2 separate regions of the Homo sapiens genome follow, and region 1 is linked to region 2. The links are contacts of gene promoters, found by promoter capture Hi-C in human tissues and cell types (Jung and others, 2019). All regions are on one chromosome and are shown on one strand. The core of a region is centred on a gene start or on the middle of the fragment in contact, and the rest is flanking DNA. Distances in the headings are between cores, read along the strand shown.

Evidence for each region. Contacts are between HindIII fragments. The study calls those that stand out against the background at their distance.
Region 1: a contact is called between a fragment that was not itself captured here and the fragment with the promoter of SALL1 in region 2, in 2 of the 25 tissues and cell types used here (mesenchymal stem cells and thymus).

What each region holds. Positions count from the first base shown.
Region 1 is chr16:51,192,041-51,194,740 of GRCh38, forward strand. No RefSeq gene overlaps it. Among named protein-coding and RNA genes, the nearest start is that of SALL1, 42 kb to the left of the region's middle. The HindIII fragment of the contact is 4,236 bases long and covers 1-2,700 here.
Region 2 is chr16:51,149,821-51,152,520 of GRCh38, forward strand. It overlaps SALL1 (spalt like transcription factor 1), which reads right to left and starts at 1,450. Exons shown (of 3, transcript NM_002968.3): 1 at 1,346-1,450. The coding sequence starts at 1,421. RefSeq lists an enhancer at 647-1,147. The HindIII fragment of the contact is 9,229 bases long and covers 1-2,700 here.

The sequences.
Region 1 (2,700 bases), core at 93-2,592, 42 kb after region 2:
ACACAAGAATGACTTTCTTGCATCCTTGTGTCTCTGAATTAATGTCTGCTAAAGAGGAGCACTTTGGTGCTGTGTGAGAAGCAGCCTTGGTCGTCTTGCCTCCTACGAATCCTCTTTTTAATAAATGCAGCCACTGTTTGACCTGCAGTGATCTGCAATATATCCGCAGGGGAAGCAGCACCACCAGAACGTCAGAATCTTCCTTCTTGAGTTGAAGGGATCATCTTAGGGATGTCTTCATCTAAAATGTCTTAGGGAGACATCTGTGAGAATGCACTGTTGAAATTTCTGTGTCTTCAGATCAAGGTCATCCTGGAGCCATTTTAGCATTATTTTAGAACTCACTGAATATAGAGATCAGATTGTCACTCTCTCCATTCCCATTTCTTCCAGGATCGGAAATGGGGGTATTAGGTGTTACAGTTTTGTTAAGAAAGACGGAAGGATACTCAGATTGGGTGGGGCTTGAACTGTGCTTCCTTCAGAGAGAAGCTCTGTTCTCTTATTGAATGAGAAGTTGGGGGGTGAAGATGGGGAGAACCTTTGAGAACAAGACCTCAAACCTCCCTCGTGAGTGGGTCCTAGTGTGCTCCCGTTGAGTGACGGACAAAGCCGAGTCCTGAGAACATGAAGCCCATGGGACACCTCCTGGTTATTCTGCAGATGGCTCCTTGGCTTCTCCTCCTCTCAGAAGCCCTGTGTCCTTCAGTGTACCAGCAGTGGCATGCATGCAATAAGAGGGTGCATTGATTGTGGAATATTTAAGGTCAGAATACCATCTAAAAGTGTCTTCTGTTTTATTTTCACCATAAGCTAGCAGTTCCAATGTCAGCACTCAGGTACTCGTTTGCTGGTACAGAGGATGCTTCAGTCATGCACACTTGAGCTGTGTATGGGGGCTAACACTGGGACCTGGTCCAGATCCCCTTTGCTGGGTCAGGAGTTAGAACACCTACTCTTTGGCTGCTGAGTGTTGGCTGCCAATGGCTCAGAGCTATCATCTTCTTGGCAGAGTTAGACTCATCCTTACCCGAGCAGCCCACAGCCAGTGAATGGCTGATCCTGTCCCTAAGGAGCAACTTACCTCTCAGAGGCCCCACCTCCCTCAGGCTAAGCTTAACATCACTCAAGACCACAGCCATGCTCAGCTTCTTCCCCATCTCTCCCCTGCTTCTTTCCCTCCCTGGATCACACCTCAACAATTTCTGTGCATTCAGAGTTCTATGTCAAGCCGTGCTTCTACAGAACCTTCTTTAACATGGCTAAAGTAGTATTCAGAGAACAATTTATAGCCTTAAATAGGTTTATCAAAACCTAAGACTGAAAATACATGAACCAAACATTCAACTCAAGAAGTTAGGAAAAAAATAATACCACCAATTGCAACTACACCACACACACACACACACACACACACACACAACCCTGCACACACACAGAGAAAGAAAGGATTTTTTGCCTGAATTGTATCATAGAAGAATCTTATGATAGTGGGATGCATTAGTGCCGGGAAATTTTCTGAAAGTGGTCAACAGTTGACACACTATTCAGTAATCAATAATTGTAATTATATACTCCCCTTATGTAGAGTATGAAGCTTTCTGTAGGCTATAGCCATTCTATAACAGCAAATCATGTTTTATCTGAGTGATCCTTGTAAAAAGAAGAAGAAGATGGAGGAAAACTTGTGGGGAGAGTTGATAGGCAGGTCCTGGAGGGAGCAGAGGGCTCATTCCGGCCTGTGACCACATGAAGAAGTCATTTGACTTCCAGGCAGTAATGCTCTAAGTGGCAAGAAAGCTTGGGCTCTGGTTTTCCCCAGGCCCACCTGAGATTCAAAAAATGTCCATATGTCCAATTTCTTCCTTTTTACCTATGGATGCAAGATGTGATCCCAATACTACTTCGACTTTTCAGGTTTGTTCGATGGCATCTATGAGTCTGTAGAATGCTCCTTGAAGATGTTGGAATTATTTTCTCAAGAACTCTGTTTAAAAGCCATGCCCAGCCTCTGGGAGGCAGGATAACATGCATTTTGTGGACCAAAAAGCCTGGGTTTAATCCAGACTACCATCATTTACTTCCTGTGCAATATTGGGCAAGAGACTAAGCCCGATGCCACCCTCACTCTGTTAAGAAGAAGAACTGGTGTTTAAACCCAAGACATCTATTTTAGATTCCCCACTCTTCACCACTATCCTGAGCAAAGGGCCAATGGATCTAAATTATTTGGGTAGCACAGTCACTGGCTGCTCATAACATAACAGCAATGAAGATGATTATCTTTTGATGAGATTATGAAGTTGATGGTGATGATGATGGCAGTAGGTTACACATATAGATAACAGAGGGTAATAGACCAACCAAAATTCCACAGATTCTTCCCCTAAGGCTCCTTCTGATGAAACCCACCCCACCCCCCCACAACATTAGGGTTTTGGAATGAGCACTGTTCTTGGCATCAGAACACCATATCCTGCTGAGATGCTAACTTTAGGTAAGTTTATTTGCCTGAGCCTTGGTGTTCTCATCAGTAAAATGGGCAGAAATGCTAGGATTACACGAAAAGAGATCCTGAGTAAAAGTGCCGGGGTGTAGATGCCCAGCAGATGTCTGGTAGGTTAGAAGAAGGCCATGTCTTGGGAGGGTGTTTCTGGAGGGAAGCAACGCATGGCACTTCTACCACTAACTTGAGCACCT
Region 2 (2,700 bases), core at 200-2,699:
AGCTTAGTGGGCTGAGGTGCCGATCAGGGTCACGCTTCGGAGCTCTGTCGGGGCCCAGCTCCCTCCTTCACACCCCAAAATGCCGCCTAGGGCGTGGGCATCCCGAGTGGCATCCGGAGCCGCTGAGACCCCGCCGAGATTGCTCCTTGTGCGTCCTCCCACAGCCGAGAGGCCAGCATCGTGCCGGGACGACCCGGGGACCCGAGTCCGGGCGCCGCTACACCGCCTCGGGCGCTAGGCCTGGGAGCTTTGAGGCCGGTACCGTGAAACACCTTTAGGAGCAAGGAGGGATTCCAGGTGTCCTCCCTTTGTACCCCAACTCCCTGCCCGGATCTCTTCCACTCTCTGCCATAGCCCCCACACACAAACTTTGTTCTGGACTTGTTCAGCCCCTTCGGGACCCACAGTTGTCGCCTCCATCGGAGAAAACAAGTGCCCCTGTTTCAGGGGGGATTCCACTCTGGCTGGCCACCCGCAAACCTGGAAAACTATTCTATGACTTCTTCCCTGACCCCCCTGGAAGTAGGGAGCACCACGATCCGCAGAGGGCGCATACCGACCAGAAAGATTTTGGGGGGCAGAGGGTGCAAGTGTTGTGGGAAGAGATGCGGAGATAAATTTTGCGAGCCAGACCCCGACACTTTCCCCGTCCGTTTGCACCGTCTCCGGAACAACTGGCGGCCAGCAGCACTCTCCACCCCGGCCGCAACCCCAGCGGGTCAGGCGCTGGCGCCCCGACACCAGTCCCCATCTTCTTGCAGCTCTGAACCTCCAAAGACACCCGGTTCTGCCTCGCAGGCCGAGGGGGAGTGTGCGTGGGGGCAGGGGGGCGCAGCGAACTCCCCCACGCTCGGAGTTCAGCCCAGCGCCCGAAGTAAACTTCCTTACCGCTGGCAGCAAGGCCGGGCGGCGGAGGCCGGGCCGGGTGCCCTGGGGCCGGCGCCGGGAGCGCTAGGGGCCCCGTGCGGTCAGGCCGGGGCGACCTCCACCCGCACCCACGCCTCATGGGGCTCCCGGGTCTTGGCCGCGGCTGGGATCCCCGGAAAAGCAGGGACGGAGAAGCCAGGCCGGCATGCCCGCCCTCCTTCCCCCGGGAGGACCCAACAACTCCGGAAAGATCCTGCCGGGAGATGTGCTCGCTTTCCCCGGGGCAGCGGGGGAAAGCCCAGCAAAGGCACATTGAAAATTAAAAAGAAAAAAAAAATTACGCCGAGTGGAAGAAGCAATCGGGGCCGCGGCGGCGGTGAGGTAGGGGGCGCGGGGGCCAGCCGCGTGTGAGTGGGTCCGAGTGTGCGTGAGTGTGAGTGCGTGTGTGTGTGTCCACGGCGCGGGCCGGAGCACTCACCATCTCGCCGGGGGAGCGAGGCCACTTCGGGGTCGGATTGGAAATGTTGAGGCTTCGCTTGCTTCCTCCGCGACATGCTGGCTCAAACATCAGCTGGGGCAGAATAAAAAATTACTAAAAAAAAATCTTCTCAAAATTACGGAAATCGAGCGGCGGCGGCGGCGGCGGCTCCCCCCGCCCGCCGGCCCGCCCGCCCCCTCCCCGGCTCCCCGGCCCCGGGCGCAGCGCGCATGTGTCCTGCTATAATTATGATTATCAATAATGCATTGCGATTAATCATAGAGGGGCTCTTTGAAAGGCGATTGGCACCGGGCCAGCGCTATTCAAACCCGCTCGCCTTAATCAATTAGTTCGTGATTTGCTGCAGACCCCTGTCTCTCCGCGCGCTGGCCCAATAAGCCGGCCGCGGGGCTGGCTCTGCGCGCCGCGCCGCCCGACACTGGGTTAACCCTCTTTGCGACCGCCCGGGACTCCGCGGCCCGGCCGCCGGGGGCCGGCCTCCTCTCCACTGCGGGCCCGGCGCCCCGGCAGGCGCCCCCCGCTCTCTCCCTCTCCCCTCCCTCTTCCCTCCCTCCTTCGCCCCCCCCCACAATCCCGGGCTGGGCCGACCCAAATTAGCATGCCCTCCCCGGAATTGAGCCGCCCCGGGTGGGGGGTGGGGCCGGGCGGCGAGGGCTGGGGACCCGGGCTGCCGGCGCGCTGCGAACTTCCCAACTCGGGGGCGAGGCGCGCCGGCCCGCGGGGGGAGGGAGTCCCGCGGCGGGATCAGGGGGGAGGGCGTCCCGTTTCGTGAGTGTTTCTTCGTTTCTTTAAGAGCTACCAGAAAGCAGCCCACCCCCACCCCCATTAAAAAAAAAAATAAGCGAGTGGGGAAGAGCCAGCCCCACGCCGGTCCGCCTCCCGCCCACGGCTCGGCCTCCCTCCCGCCTGGCTCGGCGCTCCTCCGCCCCGAGTTCTCCATCCCCTGGATCCCGGGCTCGCGGGGGCGCGGAGAAGAGGATCCAGGAAAGGTTTGGGAACCTGATGGGTTTGTGGCTGGGGGGAGGGGCAGTTCTCCCGCCACCCCATCCCCTCCCCGCCAGGGGCACTGATCCTCCAGCTTCTTGCTTGCTCCCTCGCTCCCTTTCTCTACCTCGGACATTCCCAGGACAATTAGGGCTGAAGTTTTCGGGAGAAGCAGCCCCGAGCCCGTGGGATAAGGGGGCGGCCCGGCTCCGCCCAGGACCCCTCCCGGACCTCCCCCCCGGCTGCCCCGGTTGGCTGCAGGGCGCGTCACTCCGCGGGGAGGCGGCGGCAGCGGTGGCGCCGCAGAGCCCCGGGCGGGCGGAGAGCGGGGACCGGCCTGGGCTCCGAGT